Linked DNA regions of Homo sapiens: region 2 is linked to region 1. The links are contacts of gene promoters, found by promoter capture Hi-C in blood cells and fetal thymus (Javierre and others, 2016). All regions are on one chromosome and are shown on one strand. Each heading gives the region's core, a stretch centred on a gene start or on the middle of the fragment in contact. The rest is flanking DNA. Distances are from core to core; before and after follow the strand shown.

Evidence for each region. Contacts are between HindIII fragments. The CHiCAGO score rates a contact against its expected background, and 5 or more counts as called.
Region 2: a fragment that was not itself captured here is called in contact with the fragment with the promoter of GPR156 in region 1 in 1 of 17 cell types (neutrophils); the score reaches 5.2 in neutrophils.

What each region holds. Positions count from the first base shown.
Region 1 is chr3:120,283,078-120,286,518 of GRCh38, forward strand. It overlaps GPR156 (G protein-coupled receptor 156), which reads right to left and starts at 2,145. Exons shown (of 10, transcript NM_153002.3): 1 at 1,952-2,145. It overlaps LOC124909418 (a long non-coding RNA gene), which reads left to right and starts at 2,079. Exons shown (of 2, transcript XR_007096029.1): 1 at 2,079-3,441. The HindIII fragment of the contact is 9,811 bases long and covers 1-3,441 here.
Region 2 is chr3:119,622,744-119,626,155 of GRCh38, forward strand. PLA1A (phospholipase A1 member A) reads left to right here. Exons shown (of 11, transcript NM_015900.4): 9 at 2,381-2,489. Among named protein-coding and RNA genes, the nearest start is that of PLA1A, 27 kb to the left of the region's middle. RefSeq lists an enhancer at 1,382-1,581. The HindIII fragment of the contact is 5,078 bases long and covers 1-3,412 here.

The DNA of each region.
Region 1 (3,441 bases), core at 895-3,394:
TTGTTTTAAGATAATAAGTTTATAAAATGAGAGGTAGAAAACATCTCTGTATGTCTAAAATTTTTCATAATAAAGTACTGGAGAAAAAAAGGTGAGATAGTGATTTGCATCCTTTATCAGGCAAAATTCATCAGCAACTAAACATGAATGTTCTGATTCTCAAGACCTTTGCAAAATAAAGGCTCTGATTTTTTTTTTTCAACTAAATGTAGAACATTTCTTTCAACCCCCAAATCCACCTTTGCAGCCCAAGTCAGTCCACGTTGCACTGTTTCTGCAGCATGTCAGAGCCTCTGGCTTCTTTCCTCTCTCCCCCTTCCCCCAATTAATCTCTGAAACCTACATAAGAATGGAATAAAATGCAAATTCAAGGAGAAGGATGCAGTTTTCAGAGAAGGCCTCATCCTCCTCCTACCCTATAATGGAAATTCCCTTATGGTTAAACAACAAAAATGGAAATATTAAAACCCTCAGCTGAAAACAAACACTTAAGCACCTATTCTCCTTTCCAGAGAATCTGTTTCCCTCAATCATTATTTTTCCACTCTTTTGAGAGCCTTCTAGGCTGAAAGTTGTTTCATCTCACCCATCTTGGGTCTCTCCTAGGTCTCATTTCTGCCTTCACCAGGCTTGAAGTTCTATATCCCTAGGCTATCAGAACTTTGACTCTGACCAGGCTCAATTCTAGACTTTACTGGGGAATGGGGAGAAGCTAAAAGCTGGGGGTGGAAGAGAAGGGGAAACAGAGGGAACATTCCAGAGACAGTAGTGTCCCTGAAGGGGAATTAGGCTGGCAAAATGGGGACCAGAAAGCCACCTCTATTCCTCACAAGGGACACCTAACTCAAGCACAGCCTGCTAAAGCACTTTATTCTCCAGACTCAAATTGCCTTAACCTGTAAGCAAACGCTTCCCCAGCCATTTATCCGCAAGCGCATTTGCCCCACCTGCAGCAATGAAAGAAGCACTGTTTTTGCAAGCCGGGCTGCTACCCAGACTGCGAGGAGACATTCTGTGCAGAATTCAGCCACTGGTGGAGAAAAAGAAGTTTTTCTTTGCAGGCCTTGCTGCCTAATACAACTATATCAACAATTTCTCCCGCTGTGTAAGCCCCATCTGAAAATCTTTCCCTTTTATCTAGGATGCAAAAATGTAATGTTATCCTCCATATTCTGGTTTAAAGAACTACACCAGGAAAGACATTTTATGATAGGCTAGGGCATCATTTACCTCTAATTCAAGCATGCATGTACCTAGAAAACTAACAAAGGGGTAAGTTATGCCATGCCATGACTTCTCTTCCCAGATTTCTATCCTGAAATCTTAACAAAATTCGATTTTAAAAACCTCAAGGTTTGTATTCTTCACGAGTACATGGATACCTTGAGTTCTACCTAGAGGCCTCTAGTTTCTGACAGAGCTAACTTGGAAAGGGCTGCTTGCCAGGGTACAAGGATGTTGCAGCTTCCAGGTGACTCCCTCATGCCCAGAAGCAAGGCAGTTCAACAGACGCAGTGCAATACAATTGTCCCTTTTCAGGACTTTGCAATCTCCATGGGGGAGCCCATCGTGCCCGCCACTCTACACCCTGGGGGTGAACATGCCCTGCAAAGCAGATTCGGCGTGAGGAGACTCTGGAAAGTCTACAGGCGGTGGGAAACTGTTTCGGGATCTCTCATTTTCAGCACAGCCGGTCGCTTATTCAGCAGAAAACCCACGGCCCCATCTTCACACCAAATTACAGTACTCTCCCGTCTCTTCCACTGAAATTGCCACTCGCATCCCTGATGCGTGACCCCTGCTCACCTCAAGTTCCTATGAGAGTTTCTTTACCGGTTCCAAACAAACTGCCCAGATTCTGGAAAGGGAGAGAAAGCCCCTCCCCCTTTCCACTTTCACTTAATAATTAAGTGTTTGAAGTTTTGTGGATCCTTAAGGTCGCTGTGCTCACCTCATCAGCGTCGGACCGCCGAGAAGCGCCAAGCCCGCTGCTATGTGCAGGACGCCCACGGTCCCCCGGCGTCTCGCGCGTTCGCGGGGCTGGAAGGGGCGGGAAGGGGCGGGCCGGGGCAGAGACAGGGGCCCGCGCCCATCGCCGCGCCGGGAGCCTGGCGTGGAGGCGGCGGGACGGCGGCGCAGGCCTCTGAGGTGTGCGCGGGGCGCCGGGCGCCTCTGGCCGGGGCACTGGCTGAGCCACGCCTGCCCGCCCCTCCCTGGCGCCGCCCGCGTGGCGCGCCTCGACCCTGCTCTCCCGCGAGGGCCGGGAGGGCTCCGGGACCTTGCAGACTCCACGCGCCTCACGGCTCCTCCAGCTCCTCGGATCTTTCTCCTTGCGTCGCCGCCGAGTCCCCTGGGGCGGCCCCGCCTCCGGCCGTCTCCTCAGAGACCTTCCCTGGGGGGCGCCTTCCCCTCAGCGCCCCTTCCCGGGCCTCGAGCCAGCGGCTGCCGCAGGAGCTGGCCCCGGGGCGAGGAGCTTCAGATTCAGGTCCCTAGCCGGCCTCGGTAAGGAGACTGGAAGGATTCTCCGCGAATGCTCATTTTTATTTCTGGAGTGGCGTCGGAGTTACCAATTAGTTTTCTTATTTTATACTCTCTGGAGTTGCCAAATTCTTTACGTTGAGCTTTTGCTTATTTTATAATCAGAAAGACAAGTACGTTTCTTTTTCCAAGAATGCTTACAGGAGGCCACAAACAAGATGTTCGCACCCAGCCCACTGTCTTCCGCTTAAAAATATGTGTGAGATGTTGTGTTTAAGACACCCTCAAGGAGAAACATAGAGGGGAGACCTGGAAATGGTCTTGGGAATCCACTTAGACTTTCCATATTATATTTGTTTCATTTATTTTAAAATCTCAGACCTATTTATGTGCATTAGGACATTCCACATTTTTACAACTGCGCAGAGGAAATCTTTGGTTGTAGAGGACGGGAAGAGAGAGGCCAGGTCCGCAGACCCCACTGTGACAAGACAGTGGCTACATTCTTAACTGTTTTACACATTGTGATACCCAAAGACTTCTTTTCACAGGATTCTACTGAGGGGGAAAACAAGAGGAAGAAAGAAAGATAGACAAGGTTTTCCTCAAGGCAGTAAGCAAAAAGCTGGTTTCTCAGAAGAAAGAATTATGTCTGAGATTTTACCCAGGACTCTCCAGATCTCTCATTCTACACAGAAGGACCCTTTCATTTGGAACGTGCAGAAACTGAGGAGGACCATCTCTCTCCTCCATGGGGGCTGCCTGAGTTAAAAAGGCCTGGGTCCATCTTTTTTCCGTAGGAGAGCTGACTTCAGAGTCTAGAGCCAAATCTTCACTTCTGTGGCTCTAGATTGAGGATTTGCCCTTCTGATCTCTGTGGGGCTTTTTTTTTTTAACCTGGGAATTCCCCTGGGCTCTTCGGCTGTTATTCTCATCAACCCCTCTCTATATTCTGCAAGACAT
Region 2 (3,412 bases), core at 863-3,362, 660 kb before region 1:
TGCAAAATGCCACCAGGTTGCACCTACCCCTTAGTAAAAAAAAAAAGGACAGTGTGTTAGGGAAACTGTAATCTTTCTTTTCTTATTTATTTATTTATTTAGAGACAGAGTCTCGCTCTGTCACCTAGGCTGGAGTGCAGTGGCACGATCTTGACTCACTGCAACCTCCGCCTCTTGGGTTCAAGCAATTCTTCTGCCTCAGCCTCCCGAGTAGCTGGGACTACAGGCATCCACCACCACACCCTGCTAATTTTTTTGTATTTTTAGTAGAGACGGTGTTTCACCATGTTGGCCAGGCTGGTCTCGAACTCCTGACCTCAGATGATCTGCCTGCCTTAGCCTCCCAAAGTGCTGGGATTACAGGCATGAGCCACTGCGCCTGGCTTTTCTTAAAATTTTTAATTTTGATTTTTTTTGAGACAGGGTCTCCCACTGTCACCCAGGCTGGAGTGTGGTGGCACAGTCACGGTTCACTGCAGCTACAACCTCCCATGCTCAGGTGATCCTCCCACCTCAGCCTCCCAAATAGCTGGGACTACAGGTACACACCACATGCCCAACTAATTTTTTGTTTTTGTTTTTTTGTAGAGACTGGGTCTTGCCATGTGGCCCAGGCTGGTCTTGAACTCCTGGGCTCAAGTGATCTGCCCACCTTGGCCTCCCAAAGTACTAGGATTTCAGGCATGAGCCACTATGCCTGGCCTGTAATCTTTCTTACCTTCTCTTGCCAGAGGGACAGCAGGTCCCAGGGGTATCACCATGGCCCAGGCTGTACACCCAGTCTATGTTGGCGACACTCACTTTGAGAGCTCCAGTGTCCATGCTGCTCAAGGGAGAGTCTGGATGCCACATAGGTAACCAGCGGCTGCAGGGAGAGGAGCAGTCTCCTACACACACAGCCTGCTTCCCTGACGCTGGGTGTGTGGAGAGGGAGCAGGGCCGTTGCTGTATTTAATGAGTTAATTCTCTCTTTCTTTTTTTTTTTTTTTTTTTTTTTTGAGACAGAGTTTCACTCTTGTCACCCAGGCTGTAATGCAACGGCACCATCTCGGCTCACTGCAACCTCTGCCTCCCGGGTTCAAATGCTTCTCCTGCCTCAGCCTCCTTAGTAGCTGGGGTTACAGGTGCCTGCCACCATGCCTGGCTAATTTTTATATTTTTAGTAGAGACAGGGTTTCACCATATTGGCTAGGCTGGTCTCAAACTCCTGACCTCAGGTGATCCACCCGCCTTGGCCTCCCAAAGTGCTGCGATTACAGGAGTGAGCCACCACGCCTGACCTTATGAGTTAAACCTTTAGTTTATGTCTTAGTCTACTTGTGCTACTATGACACAGTACCTGAGACTGGGTAACTTACAAAGCTCAGAAATTTATTTTCCCACAGCTCTAGAGGCTGGGAAGTCCCAGATCAAGGCGCCGGCACTCCATGTCTATAAGGGTTGCACTTTCTGCTCCCAAGAAGGTGCTTTGCTGTTGCATTCTCCAGAGGGGACAGATACCGTGTTCACACACAGCAGAACGCAGGAGGTCAAATAAGGGCCCTGCCAATTCCCTTGAGCCCTTCTATAAGGCACTATTTCATTCATGATAGTAGAGCCTTCATGACTTAATCCCTTCCCTCAAAGGCCCCACCTCTCAGTACTGTTGCACAGAGCATTCAGTTTAAACATGAACTCGGAGGGGACACAAACAAAAGATAGCCGTATATGATAGATGCATTTTGGCTCATTCAAGATCATCCCACCATGAATATGTCAGCAAACAAGGGGAAGTAAAACATTAGTATTACAAAATAACAAAAACTAACATTACTGAATGCTTCCTAGGCACAGGCACTGTCCTGAGAAGTTCATACATATTAACCCACTTATTTCAGACCTAGGGTATCTATTTTTTTTTTTTTTTAGACGGAGTCTTGCTCTGCCGCCCAGGCTGGAGTGCAGTGGTGCAATTTCTGCTCACTGCAAACTCTGCCTCCTGAGTTCAAGCGATTCTCCTGTCTCAGCCTCCTGAGTAGCTGGGATTACAGGCACCCGCCACCACACCTGGCTAATTTTTATATTTTTAGTAGAGATGGGGTTTCACCATGTTGGTCAGACTGGTCTCAAACTCCTGACCTCAGGTGATCCACTCGCCTCGGCCTCCCAAAGTGCTGGGATTACAGGCGTGAACCACTGCGCCCAGCCAAGTGTCTATTTTTATTATCCTCAATTTGCACTTGAGGAAACTGAGGACCTGAGATTATAGGTGATCTGCTCCTGGGCACACAGCCACTAAGAGATAGAGCCAAGATTCCCAACCACACTGCTGCTCTCTGGGGTTTTTGCCCATTGCACCTTCTGCCCTCTGGCCAGTCTCTGTTGTGCTTTGGTTTCCTAGTGCATCACAGCCTCGTGGAGTTTCACTTGAAGGAACTGAGAAACAAGGACACCAACATCGAGGTTACCTTCCTTAGCAGTAACATCACCTCTTCATCTAAGATCACCATGTACGTAAGTGTCCCACCTGGTTGACTCCTCCCCTTAGGAGTTGGTTACTTTTTCATTTTACACACATGGACATCCCAGGTCAGGGACTGTGTGATTGCTGATGCATGGGCCCAGCCGGCTTGGCTGGGGGCAGCACCTACTATAGATCCAGCCACAGACACATGCTGAGGAGCTGTTCAGTAGTGGGTCCAAGTATAGCAGATTCAGATGAGAGTAGGCAGGGCAAGCAGGCAGCAGGGATGGCATGTCCCAACAGATGGAGAGGACATAGGAATCAGGTCCCTGAGAGGAAACAGTACTCTGGAATCCAGACAGTGCGGGTATCAGGGATGTCAGTAGGGAGGAGGGCCTCAGTCACCAGCCCAGGAAGGGCTAGCCAGAGCCTGGAGAGCACCCACTCCTGGGAAAGGAGAGCAGTTCTGGGTCAGTTACCAGAATGGAATCTGAGGCACAGGGTCAGTCAGCAACGGAGTGCGAGCTGAGGGCCAGACTAGCGGCCAGGAGGGCTTGGTGCTGGGTGATTCCTGAAACTGGGGGTAGTCATTCCCTTCCTTTGTTGGGGCAGACTTGGGCTTGGGGGCTGGTGGGACTACGCTTGAAGTGAGAGGGCAAGGAACCCCAACTGTAGGGAGCCACAGCCTGCAGGGGATAGGAAGTCAGCAGCCATGGTGCATGCTTCTTTAAAAAGCAACCGGTTAGTTATTCACAAGCCAGCGGGAGACAGATTGTCAGATAATGTCACTGTCTCAGTGAGAGTCCGGTCAGGAAAACAGAGGAGGTCCAAGAGAAGGAATTTAGCACAGTGAACTCATTACAAGTGTGTTGGATGAGCTGGAAAACAGAGATGGGGACACAATGCAGAGATTAATCACAACAGGAGCCAATACAACCCTAGGCTAGAGGGACAAAGCAGGAGTGGAGT